Regions from separate parts of the Homo sapiens genome. Here all the other regions are linked to region 1. The links are contacts of gene promoters, found by promoter capture Hi-C in blood cells and fetal thymus (Javierre and others, 2016). All regions are on one chromosome and are shown on one strand. The core of a region is centred on a gene start or on the middle of the fragment in contact, and the rest is flanking DNA. Distances in the headings are between cores, read along the strand shown. Region 1 holds the start of RNF144A (ring finger protein 144A). Region 2 has its middle 100 kb from the start of LINC01814. Region 3 has its middle 47 kb from the start of LINC01814.

Region 1 (4,247 bases), core at 1,748-4,247:
AATGGAATTTGTTAATTTTTAAAATAAAAAAAGTGAATTTTCTATATTTATGGAATGTGTGATTACAAATTCACATAAACTTCCTTGTCTAATTTTTTTTCTTTTCTTTTTCTTTTTCTTTCTTTTTTTTTTTTTTTGAGACTGAGTTTCGCTCTTGTTGCCAGGCTGCAGTGCAGTGGTGCGATCTCGGCTCACCGCAACCTCTGCCTCTGGGGTTCAAGCGATTCTCCTGCCTTAGCCTCCCGAGTAGCTGGGATTATAGGCATGTGCCACCACGCCTGGCTAATTTTGTATTTTTAACAGAGACAGGGGTTTCTCCATGTTGGTCAGGCTGGTCTTGAACTCCCAACCTCAGGTGATCTGCCTGCCTCGGCCTCCCAAAGTGCTGGGATTACAGGCATGAGCCACCACACCCAGCCCCTTGTCTAATTTTTTAAAAAAAATTCAAGTGTGGGTCTTGAGCTTCCCTTGATTTTCTGTCTAGAAGAGAAGTGTCAGAACGGCTATCTGCTTTCCCAGCTTCTGGGCCATTTGCTGCAGCACTGAGTCGCCAGCCTGCTTCGCATGAGCAGGGAAATTTTGCCCATCTAGGTAATCAGGAAGAGCTTGTTCAATGAGTGAAGGGTGAGTCATACTGCATTGGCACAAACTCTTGGCAACAATGAGTGTCCTTTACAATGGGCTCTATGGGACAGCCCTCTGGGGGAGATGGGCCAGCCAGACCTGAGTAAGGGGCTGGACTGAAAACTGACAGTGACAGGTGGAAGTGAACTTGAGAGACCCAACAAACTTCTTGTTGGAGAGAACTAGGACAGCTGCTCAGAGGCAAAGCTCAGAGTAGAGGATTTCACTCAGTATTTATTGAGCACTTATTATGTTCAAGGCCCTAAGAGGGAATATGTAGAAAAATGCTGTTCTCTAGAATCGTAAGATCTAAGCATCAGAAAGTGAATGCCACAAACATTAAGTGTGGCAGATGCCATGATCAACACAGACAAAGACTAAGTATTACACCAGCTCAGAGATCAGAGATCTAGGGATGGGGAACTCCATGATAGGCCGGGAAGTCTTTGCAGGGAAATCTGCATCTGAGTGCCTTTTGAGGCCTGCTGCAAACAAAACTTTCAATGCCAGTGTCCCCTCTCACTATCTCCCCAACAATGGTTGCATTCACAAAGACAGAGCAGGGGAATGAAGTCACATGTATTACCACATGAGCAATTACAAGTCTCAGTTGGGTCAGGGCATTTTTGCACCTTAACTCTCTTCCTGCAGCCCCAGATGCTCCTTTGCAGTCCCCCAGCTTGAGTGTTATACGTCTGTGTTCCATGAGAATGCCTGCATCTTAATACAGACCCCTTTATTGTGGGGAACACAGCACAACGTCTGTGCATTTGCAGTCACCCACCTGTGCATCCCCTGAATCCTTCATTCATAAGTAGTACTCAACCAGGAACTTCTTTGGTATCCCAGCTCGGACACGGGAGGTGTGAATATATTTTTCATAAAGCCCAGGCCTTTATGCAGAACGATTTTCATCCTCTAGTGAGAGGCTGAAGTAACAAAGTGCTGTTGTTAAGATTCTTCCCATTGTGCATTTTTCTTGAATAATGACATTTCTAAAAAGAATCTGAAACTGAGGCATTAGAAGGCAAGTGCTCGTTCATATATTTGAAGAGGTCAAATATTTACCAGAATAACTTCTCAATACAGAGGGGACAGCTTTATTTTATTTTACTATAAAGATGTATGTGTAGCAGAAGACAAATTATGCAGAGCTTTGAGTTAGTTAAGAATCATCTGATTTAATTCTTTGGAGAAATGAGACAAATTGTAGCTAAGGACTATGGAGTTGTTTTAGTTTGCCAGTTATATTTAATTTGACTATTTCTTTATTTATTGAGAGACAAAGTCTCACTCTGCTGCCCAGGCTGGAGTGCAGTGATGCAAACACAGCTCACTTCAGCCTTGACCTCCTGGGCTCAAGCAGTCCTCCTGCCTTGGCCTCCCAAAGTGCTGGGCTTACAGGTGTAAGCCATGGCACTTGGCCTATTTGACTTGTTTAATCCCTCCGAAGAACTCATACATACTATTGCCACCTCATTTTCCACGTAAGAAAATGGAAGCACGAAGACCTTAATAACTTGCTTAATGGCTAGTAGGTGGTAGAGCTTGAATTTAGACCACACAGTGTGGAGGGTATGCTATTAAGGAAAAACGATGTTCTAGTGGGGTTTCCATTTAATATTGCAGAAAAAAGAATCTATATATTTAAGAAGGTGTTATTTCATGCACACTCGTAGGTTTTGTTCATATATGCACATCTGACGTATAATTTAACATTTGTGTAACTTCAAGCTTCTATGGGGAGTGGCAGAAGATGCAGGAATTCTATTAATACCTTCGCAGATCTTAGATTCCAACAAGCTGGATACCTTAAGAAAAATAAAGAAATTGCTGTGCTTGGATCCCAGATGTCCATTCCACCTTTTGGGACCTCCCGGGGGGCCCTCTTTTCTTCATCCTTCAAGACAAGGATAGTGGGGTGAACAGACAGACTTTCCTTGCGAGGGTTGGCTCAGGAAGGCTCTGGGCTCATCTCACAGCCGCCCCAGCGAGGGTCGGGGAGGCAGGTGCTGGCTCCGGTGGGGTCTGCGGCAGAGCAGGACTGGAGCCCAGGGCGCAGCTGCACAGCTCAACGCCGGTTCGCGCCCTGGTTTACAGCGTTGGGCTGGGTCACCCCTTCTTTCCTAGCTTGCTGCTGTGTGTTCCCTCGGTGTAGGAATCAGGGGAGTGTCTTCTGGAGGCCACTAAAGCAGGAATAGCATTTTCATGTTAGCGTGCACGGGCGGTCTCCGCAGCCCCTCCTCGTGCCGGAGCCTGTCCTGGGGCCTGCGGGGCGGCTCCGGGCCTCGGGCCGGCGCAGGCGGGCGGCAGGGGGCGCTGTGCGGCTCGGCGCGGGGGCGGGGCCGGGGCCGAGCCTCCCGCGTGCCCGGCCTCTGTGCGCGCTCGCGCCCCGCCCGCGCAGCCGCTTCTCCCCGCGCGGGCTCTCGGCAGGCGGGAGGCGGCAGGGCTGGCATTGCAGTGCGGGCCGTGCGGGCTGCGCGGGCGCGGGGAGGCGCGGGCGGCAAACTGCGGGCACCCGGCACCCCGCAGCCAGTACCGGGCGGAGGCGTCAGAGCCGCGCACCGCGGACGAGCAGGCCCAGGTAGAGTGACGCGCGTCCCCTTTGTGTCCGCATCGCCCGGGCCGGCCGCGGAGCGGGGAGGGCGGGACGCGGCGCTGCGCGGCCGGCCTTGGGGCTCGGGGCTTGCGGCCGCGCCTGCCCCGCTGGGTCCTGCCCCGGCGCCCGGTGGCAGCGGGCGGGGGGCAGCGTCCCGGGCGGGGACTCGCGGGCTCCGTTCAGAGGACGCCCGCCCTGCCCTGCCCGTGTCCCTGACCTCGTCCCTGCTCTGCTCCTGCCCTGCCCTGCCTCTCGCAGGCGGCGCCCGCGCCCCAGGGCAGTGGGCGCTTAGGGACCTGGCGTCCCCCTGCCTGCCCTGCGCGGTCGCGGGTCTGCGCTGCGGCGCGGGACAGGGCGCCCCGGGCCAGGGTCCCGCGGGCGAGCTGGCGGCGGGGGCTTTCAAGGTTCGCGGCCCCGCCCGCAGACCCTGGGGCTGGAGCCTCGGCCCCAAGAGGAGGTCTGGGAAAGGACGACGCGTCCGGGGCATCGCCACCGGCGGGGAAGGTCGGAACTGGCCAAGAGGATGCCCCGCACATCCCCTGCGCGCGGGGTCCGCGGCTGCTACTGCCCCTGGTCCCCACCGCGAGCCCTTTCCCGGGGAATGAGCCGCCGCCCGAGCCCCGGAGTTCCCTGCGGGTCTTACCCACCCCAGCCTCCGGCCGCCGACCCCAAGCCCCCTGCACTGTGCTTGGCTCCCAGCTGTTTGGTCGCTTATGCCATCCTGGAGGCTTCCTGGTCCTGGGGTGAAGGGGTGACTTCTTTACCCTAATGGTCTTCGTAGGCAGGTCTCAGGATGTCCACTCCAAAGTTCGTGGTCTTTTTTCTAGAGAATAATAATTTTTAAAATCCATTGAACTGGCCGGGCGCGGTGGCTCACGCCTGTAATCCCAGCACTTTGGGAGGCTGAGGCGGGCGGATCACGAGGTCAGGAGATCGAGACCACGGTGAAACCCCCTCTCTACTAAAAATACAAAAAATTAGCCGGGCGCAGTGGCGGGCGCCTGTAGTCCCAGCTACTCGGGAG
Region 2 (3,798 bases), core at 530-3,029, 1.6 Mb after region 1:
TGGTAAAATGAGACAGATGAGGTTCAAAATGTCTCTCCTGCCCCAAACATCTTCATTCTGCCCCAGACGTGACCACTGCAGCTCCAACAGCCATATTGCAAACAAGAGAAGAATTCTAAGAAAACTGCAGAAGGTTAGTGCTAATATCACCGAGTTTATGAACCAGCACCAGTAACCACTGACCTCCAGTCTTCCTGTTACATGAGGAAAAATAAACTCCTCATTACTTAAAAGCCATAGAGTCAAGCAGTCAGATATGCTGTTACTTGCAGCCTTTGACATATACAAACCAAATATAAAGCGGGAAAATCGTTTGTCCAAAAATGTAGACTGTTCCAAAGAAACTCAACATCAACATCAACCACTTCCCACATCACTCTCTGCCTGATATTTAAGCACATTTTAATCACAATTCCCAGGGAACTCTGTGTGTTCTTCTCCTTTGAATGTATTGCGTCCATATAAGAGGTGGGAAAACTAGTAGTTATGGTTGAAGACCTACACGTGGCATTCTTAATTCTATATAAACCTCACAGTTCCAGGAAAGTTTCTCTCCACCTATGCAACATGTATAATTTTTTCACTCCCCAATGTACAAGAAATTACAGGGAATATTTTATTGTTCCTCAAAAAATTAATATGGTCATTGTCATTTAATATGGTTTAAATTTTTTAAAATTTTAAAATTTTTTTTAAAGTGTTTCTTCCTCCCCAGACACTATTTGGCTGCCTACTCAGTGACAAGTCCCTGCCAGACCCGGTGATTCAAAGCCCAGTTTTGCTCAGGTGTGGACAGCCCTGGGCTTGGGGTGACCAGGGCCCTCCCTGGCCCTAGGGAGTAAGTCCTCATTCATCCAAGCTGATCGTAGCAATTCCCTTCTCCTTGATGAGACAGGTTTGGGAAAAAACATAAGGCATAATTCTGGCTAACAAGCTGAGAGAGGAAGTCCGCTGGGAAACTTCTGAGGAAGCTCCTTCCTCTGAAAATGAGGCATTCACACGGGCCAGGCTGCAGGCACCACAGATCTGAAGCTGCGGTCACTCAACACAGAGATGCCTGTTATGCTCGTGTGAGAGTCCAGGGCAGTTCCAAGTGGCTGGGACAAGGGAGCAGTGGGCACAGGGAGCTCTGCTCCATGCAGTTATTGAGACTCAAGCACAGGCTGTACCATCTTCAAAACCTGGCTTCCACAGTTGCCCTGATGGTCAGACCCCAATTAACCAAAGGGGGAAAGAGCCTGGTCTGCTGTCCTTGGCAGCATCTCCTAGAAGGACAACTTAGTGACCCCAGGAACAGTTGCATTGTTGTTGGATGACAGCAGTAAAAGTGCACAACATACCGCCCTGCTGAAATCGAGAATTCTTTGCACCACCTGAACCAAGCTCATGTGTTTTAAAGACTCCTGCACAGAGACGCTTCTGGGCTGGGCATGCAGATGGCTTTCACCCTCCATCCATCAGACTCAGCCACATGGCCATGCCTGACCGCAGGGGAGGCTGGAAGATATGGTCTGGCTGTGTGTGCAGAAAGAAAAGGAAACAGCTTTGGTGCAAAAATGAAAATGCAGAGTGCCATGTTCATAATTACTAAGAATTTCCAAACAGAGGCAGCAGAGCATTACATCAGTGTAGGACCCTTCTCGGCGTGGGTTCTGTGTGGCTGCACGGTTAAACACTCAATTCAGGCCTGGACAGAGGAGGTGCTTGTCATATGGCAGCCAGCACCATCTCCTCCCTTCCTGACCCACCATGTACCTCCAGCCCATGCTACCTGTTTTCCCATTCACATTCTATCTTACGTCATCTTTCCCCATAGCTCCTTGTGGTCAGGAACCACATCACATGCCTGAGTGCACATAGGCACTTTGAGTGACTAAAGGTATCCCCAAATCAAATTGATTCTAAGTGTTCAGGGTAACAATTTCATGATGCAAAAGAAAGCACACAGATTTGAAGGTTTGATGTGGCTTTGACAGGAGTAACTAAAATCAGTTTAGCAAATCAGATTAAATTTGTGGCCCGTTTTCCTTGACAGCATCTCCTAAAAGTACAGCTTAATGACTCCATGAACAGTTGCATTTTTATTGGATGATAGTAGTAAAAGTGCACAAAATATCTCTCTGCTGAAATAGAGAATTCTTTGGCACCACCTGAACCAAGCTCATTTGTGTGTTTTAAAACAATTTGCATTTGGCCTCATGCTATGTTGTTCTTGCCTGCATGGCCCTGATGGTGCCAGTGTGGGATGATTCTGCAATGGTACGTACTCCTATAGCCAGGATGGCCCACAAGCCCTGTCACCCAGACATCCTCCTTTCCAGCCAGGTCACCTAACAGTGACAGCAGTGGTTTCCCGAAAGGGGTACAGTCCAGTGCAAACCTGGCAGTTTCCAGGCACTTAAAAGTCCAGAAGGAGGGAACCAGCTGCAAAGGGAGGGCCCAGGCCACACCAGGCTCTGAGCTTCCAGGTGAACACCCAGCTGTTCATTATGTTGTGATGATGATGGTGATGGTGATAATGATGGTGATGGTGATGATGATGGTGACAGTGATAGTGATAGTGACGGTGATGATGGTGATGGTGAGGATGATGCTAATGTTAGCCTCCTCTCAAGTTTATCATTCCCTCATTGAGTCAATTTGTATTTGCAACTGTTTATTGACTTTTCCACTCAGCAGGTGCACCTGGACATCGGGGTCGCTGAAGGCAGCTATGGTCCAGCCTCATGACTGTGAGGAGAGTGGAGAGGGAGAGTCCTCAGGGCTGGCCAGCAGTCATCCCCCACTTCTGCTGTGAAGAGAGGAGAGCAAGAGCAACTGTGTCCACATGGAGCTGTTGACTCCCTCCTCTTCCTCAGAACCAAGAAACTCCCATGTACTCTACCCGGCATAGGTCCAGTAGGAATACTACACATAAATTAATCCAAAGCTCTAAGAAGTGAGTGCTGAAAATGACTTTGGATGACATTTATCAGATGGGAAAGCGCACAGAGAGACACACACAACACATGCATACACAAGGTATGCACACACACCAATGACAGGGCATTTACTATATATATGGTACAACACCAAGCTCTTTTCATATGTCATCTCGCTTATAATCCTGTGGGTGGTATTATTATCCCCATTTTACAGGTGAGGAGACCTGCCTCCCAGGTCATTTATGTAGTGGAGCTGGGGCGCCAGTGCAGACTGAGTCTTCTTTCTGCTGTCCACTACCCCCTAGGACACTGGACTAGTCCAGGAAATAAGGCACAGTCCTGAGACAAAGTCAGAGCCTTGGAAGCAGTCAGGGCATCTCACTTTAGGGCCCCAGAGTATGGGGGATGGTGGCTGTCTGGGGCACCAGGCTCCAGACATGGTGTATTAGTCCATTTTTACACTGCTGTAAAGAAATAGCCAAGACTGGGTAATTTGTAAAGGAAAGAGGTGTAATTGACTCACAGTCCCACATGGCTAGGGAGGCCTCAGGAAACTTACAATCGTGGTGGAAGGTGAAGGGAAAGCAATGCACATCTTACATGGCAGCAGGAGTCAGGAGTGGTAACTGCCAAACACTTTTAAACCATCAGATCTCATGAGAACTCATTCACTATCACAAGAGCAGCATAGGGGAAACCACCCCCATGATCCAATCACCTCCCACCACGTCCCTCCCCTGAAACGTGGGGATTAAAATTGGAGATGAGACTTGGGTGGGGACACAGAGTCAAACCATATCACACAGGTCCATCCCATCTCTGCTCTTGGTCTCCAGCTCTTTTTCACCTTGGCAAAGTCTGTGGCACCAAAGAG
Region 3 (4,287 bases), core at 228-2,727, 1.6 Mb after region 1:
GTCCAAATCTCAGCAAGAGGACCCAAGAGAAGACCCAAGGGAGGCCTTCTTCCCCAGAGTCAGGGCTTCTTCCCTGCAGAGAGGGCTGCAGGTGCTTCCTATCCTGTTGGGTCCATGAGTGGCTGCTCAAAGGGACGAGTTCTCGTGGGGAGGCACTTCTGTCCCTTGTCAGGTTAAGTCCTTCACCGGTTCCCACCCCGGACAGGACAGGGCGCACTAAAGCTCCACTGCGTGCATGACAGCCTTCCTGGCTGTGGACCCTCTCGCCCATTCCCCAGACCCCTCTGCAGAGTTCAGGAGTAAGGAACTCGGCGGCATAGCCCCACTGCAGGCGGGGGTTGGATCCCAGCCACACCACTGGCCATGAGCTCAGGCACACCGCTGGTCACTTGACCTCCCTGAGACTCAGATGTTCGGCCTCTGAGTAGGAAGCATCCAGGGCAGACCAGCGAGGAAATGCAATTGACCCCTGACCAGACTCCCAGCCCCACAGCCACCCGCTGCGGGATCTGCAGGCTGTGGAAGGAGCTGAGTCAGGGGTGCTTGGGGGGATGTGTCGGGAGGGGAACCTGCACCCTCACTGGCGGGGGTGGAAGGGGAGGCAGAGGCCAAGGGCTGCCGTCAGGCACCGTCTCAGCAAGAGAATCAGGAACTAGAGCCCCCAGCTGTGAGGGCCCTGTGAGATTTCTTCAACTTTTGTCACTTCCCCACTTTTTCCCCTTTGGTTACCACCCTTCTGCCCGGCGTGACTGTTAATTAACCCCTTACAGCTGCAAGGGCTGGCCTGCAGGGTCAGCAAAGACAGGAGCCAGAGGACAGCCCCACCCCAGCCCAGGCCAGTCCCGAGATGGGGCCAAGCCAGCAGGGCCTAGGTCCAGGCTGAGCGGGTGAGGGGTGGCCCAGGCCTGGAGCCACTGCAGCCAGAAAGGTCCTGGGCCCCCAGCCACCCTCTGGGTAAGCTCCTGGTGAACGTCCAGGCAGGCCTGGTTGTGCAACAGGCCCCGCTCCCAGTAAGTTGCAGCAGGGGGAGGAGATCTCAGCCTGCAAATGCTGCTTTGCTGGTTATACTCTCACCTCTGGCTGGATCCACCCAGCTGCTTCCATGTCTCCTCCGCTCCCAGGCCTGGGGGAGAAAGCCCAGGAGGGAGGCGTAGAGCGCCAGGCCCTTGTGGCTCCCCTGGCTCCATGCAACTGAACTCAGCCCCAGAGGATCTCTGCTCTGACTCGAGAAAGTCCAGGGAGAGGAAGGGGGCTGAGGAGGGGAGCAGAGCACACCCCAGCACATTCCATGATTCATCTGGACCCAGCGCATCTGCCAGGGTCCATGCGTGTGCACGTGTGTGCATTGAGGGTCGCACGTGTGTGGTACTTTCGATCTGAAAACACACAGTATCTCTCCAATCCTCACAGCAGTCTCATGAGCAGAAACGTTTGTGTCAATACACAGATAGGGACACCAAGGTTTGGACTGACTCAGTGACTGGTGGGGATTCTCACGCAGCCCGGGGGGCTCCCACAGTGGTCCCTGCAGAAATCCTGGAACTCTGCTGCAGGTGGTCACGGCTACCAGGCATCACCAGCCCATCTCTGAGACTTCCACACACGGAGGTTTACTAGTAACTCATTTGCATATCTGCCCCTTGCTGGCAAGATCTCTTCCCTACCCCAGCTCGAAGGCTCGGTGCTGCCATCCAAGCCAGCTTCCTGTGTTCTGTCCAGAGCAGAGGAGAGAGAACCACCCACCCAACACCCTTCGTGTAAAAAGCCGTAATCCTCCTGTGCTTGCAGACTTCACCACCAGCCTGCAGCCTCACCTTCCCCCAAACTTCCCTCCTGGTTCTAATTTTTCAGTCCTTTACTCATCTCTGGGGGAAGCGGCCCAGGGGGCGGGAGGCACGTGGGAGGCTGAGAGCTCAGTGTTGAAGTCGGCGGCAGCCCCGGGCTTGGGCTCACCCAGCAGTACCCGCCCCACTGCTGCCTCGGAGAGACAGAATAAGATCCACATCCTAGCCCAGTGCCAGGCCTGGGGAAGGTATGAGACGAACAGGCCCAAACCAGCCAGGACCTGGGCAAGCCCCTCCGGCCAGTGCCTCTGGCCCTGCAGGGCACTTGACCCCCCTCACCTCAGCCCCGTGAGTCCAGATCCTTCCTCCCTGGGCAGACCCCTTCCCACCCACATTGGATGTCCTCTGCAAAACATCACACATCATCTGTTCTCCATTCCTGGAGATCATGACACCATCACACAGGCCTGGGCCCCCAAGACATCACTCTGAGCCCCTGCTATATGTGATGGCCCGTGGAGGCCCAGGTCCTCCGCCTTGTCATCCAGAGAACAGGACTAATGTTCCCTTTAGCTCCTGGTTTGGGGGTGGGGGAGGTTTGTCACGCAGCGAAGAGCAACGGCCCAACTGAACTCAAGATAGGTAACATCTATCACTCTCTGCAATCTGCAAGCTCGTCACTCTGCCTGGGAAGATTAGATTAGTAAGCACCCGGTCATCGGAAAAATCCAGCTCCAGATACCTAATATCTTGTTTTCTTCCGTCTGTGCCCACAGTGTTTGTGAGGCTAACTTGGCTGGCATTTTTTCAAGTGTAGAAACAAAGCAGGCAGCTTTCTCCTTTCCAGGCAGGGCCTCCCCGACTTCAGTCATCTCCCACCCTTGACTCTTCCCCAGACACCTCCTCCAACCCTCTGAGTTTTCCCAAATGGGGCCCAGGCCAGACTCCAGCTATGTCTTGGGGCCCTGGGCACCAGGCTTCCCCTCCCTCCCCTCGTGTTTGCTGATCATTGTCATCAACCCTGGGTTTTCCTGAAAGAAGCACAGCCCATGTGTCTCAGGGTCCTTCTCCCATCTCCTCTTGGCCTCTTGGCCTCCTGGTAGGCTCCACACAGCAACACCAGCCCCCACACATCCTGACCCCTACTTCCCAGAATCGGTCATTTGGCAGGATTTGAAATCATCACTGCTTCCAGGCCTGTTTGCCTGTCACACTCTTGGGAGAGATTATTAAAAGCATAATTTTTAAACAGACAAGAGCAAAGCAGCCCCTTTGGCTAGGGTCTGATGGCTACATCACACCCTCTGGAGAGAAGTACGGCAGTGAAGTTCTGCAGGCGACTCCTGCCGGTCTTGGACGTGATGGGAACTCAGGAGGTCACAAGGCCCCTCAGCCATTCAACCTGACATCGCCAAAACTGGAGGTCTCCTGGGAAGCTGTCTTTTTCATCTCCGTTCCAGGAGCAGAGTAGGACTTGCTTTCTAAGCTGGGGCTCCTCAGATGGGGCTGAGGCTGCAGAGGGTTGGGAGAGCACGAGTCTGGGCTGGGCTGTCCCTTCCTCCCACCCTGGGCCCTGCCACATCACTGTCAGCTTGCCAACACCCCCTGACCTGTCTGTCCACGTGGCCTAAGCTTTCCTGTCTTTTCAAGCCAGTCTTAACCTAGGATCAAAGGGTCCAACTCAGGCAGAGACTCACCTCTTGTAAGATACTGCCTCAGGGGCGTGACTGCTCTTGGTGAAAGGGGAGAAAGTGAAGGGGGCTCCTGCATGGGTGGCAGGCTAAACTTGCTGATGCCAGGACTCAGCTGCTCTCAGGGAAACACAGGACCCCAGGCTGAACATTTTCAGAAAGATCCAATCCAGCCAGCCAGCCCCTTCTGCTGGCAAGTCAGCTCCCAGGGCCTGGGCTCCCAGGGAGAAAGGAATCCAGAGACCTTAGGCAGAGAGACATCAGGCCAAGGGGGGACCGAAAATTTTACATCTTAAAAATACCTCAGCTCTTTTCTTTCTCTGGTTGAAGTTGTTGAGTCTTCTGCAAGTCAACTGCAAGTGAATGCCTGGACCAATGGAAAATGCTCGGGAGGGCCCCAGCCAGGCTCCCACTGAGCCCAGCTCCTTCTCCCTCAGTCTCCTTCTCTCTGTGTCTCTCTGCCAGCCCCCACCCTCTCTCCTCTCTCCCTGTCCTGGCCTCACTATGCTCCCTGTAGGTGTGTGCATTTCTGTCTTTGCTCTCCTGCTCCATGTCTTTCTATCTCTCTCCTTTCTTTCTACCCTCAACCTCCCCTTCTTAGCCTGGAGGAAGCTGTAATTTAGGGCCTCTTTCCCCAAATGAATCTCTCAATATCTACAAATGTTAACTTCATTAATTTGGGAAGGATTTATCAGCACAGAGGTTAATTGTCTTTCCCTGACATGTTTTTACTGAATACATCTGGGTGACAAAATTAATTTCCTCATTAGCTATTTTTGAAAGTGGAACAAGCTGAGGGGAATCAGTGCAGG

Evidence for each region. The method cuts DNA at HindIII sites, captures the fragments that hold promoters and counts their contacts. A CHiCAGO score of 5 or more calls a contact.
Region 2: a fragment that was not itself captured here is called in contact with the fragment with the promoter of RNF144A in region 1 in 4 of 17 cell types (total B cells, erythroblasts, activated CD4 T cells and 1 more); the score reaches 6.8 in total B cells.
Region 3: a fragment that was not itself captured here is called in contact with the fragment with the promoter of RNF144A in region 1 in 2 of 17 cell types (erythroblasts and neutrophils); the score reaches 8.5 in erythroblasts.

What each region holds. Positions count from the first base shown.
Region 1 is chr2:6,914,415-6,918,661 of GRCh38, forward strand. RNF144A (ring finger protein 144A) reads left to right here and starts at 2,998. Exons shown (of 9, transcript NM_014746.6): 1 at 2,998-3,208. GRASLND (glycosaminoglycan regulatory associated long non-coding RNA) reads right to left here. Exons shown (of 5, transcript NR_033997.1): 1 at 3,988-4,247; 2 at 2,436-2,810; 3 at 1,409-1,553. RefSeq lists a silencer at 2,838-3,327. The HindIII fragment of the contact is 2,406 bases long and covers 2,357-4,247 here.
Region 2 is chr2:8,480,083-8,483,880 of GRCh38, forward strand. No RefSeq gene overlaps it. Among named protein-coding and RNA genes, the nearest start is that of LINC01814, 100 kb to the right of the region's middle. RefSeq lists an enhancer at 1,425-1,524. The HindIII fragment of the contact is 7,766 bases long and covers 1-3,798 here.
Region 3 is chr2:8,534,313-8,538,599 of GRCh38, forward strand. No RefSeq gene overlaps it. Among named protein-coding and RNA genes, the nearest start is that of LINC01814, 47 kb to the right of the region's middle. RefSeq lists cis regulatory regions at 339-1,341, 1,364-3,556. The HindIII fragment of the contact is 3,873 bases long and covers 1-3,414 here.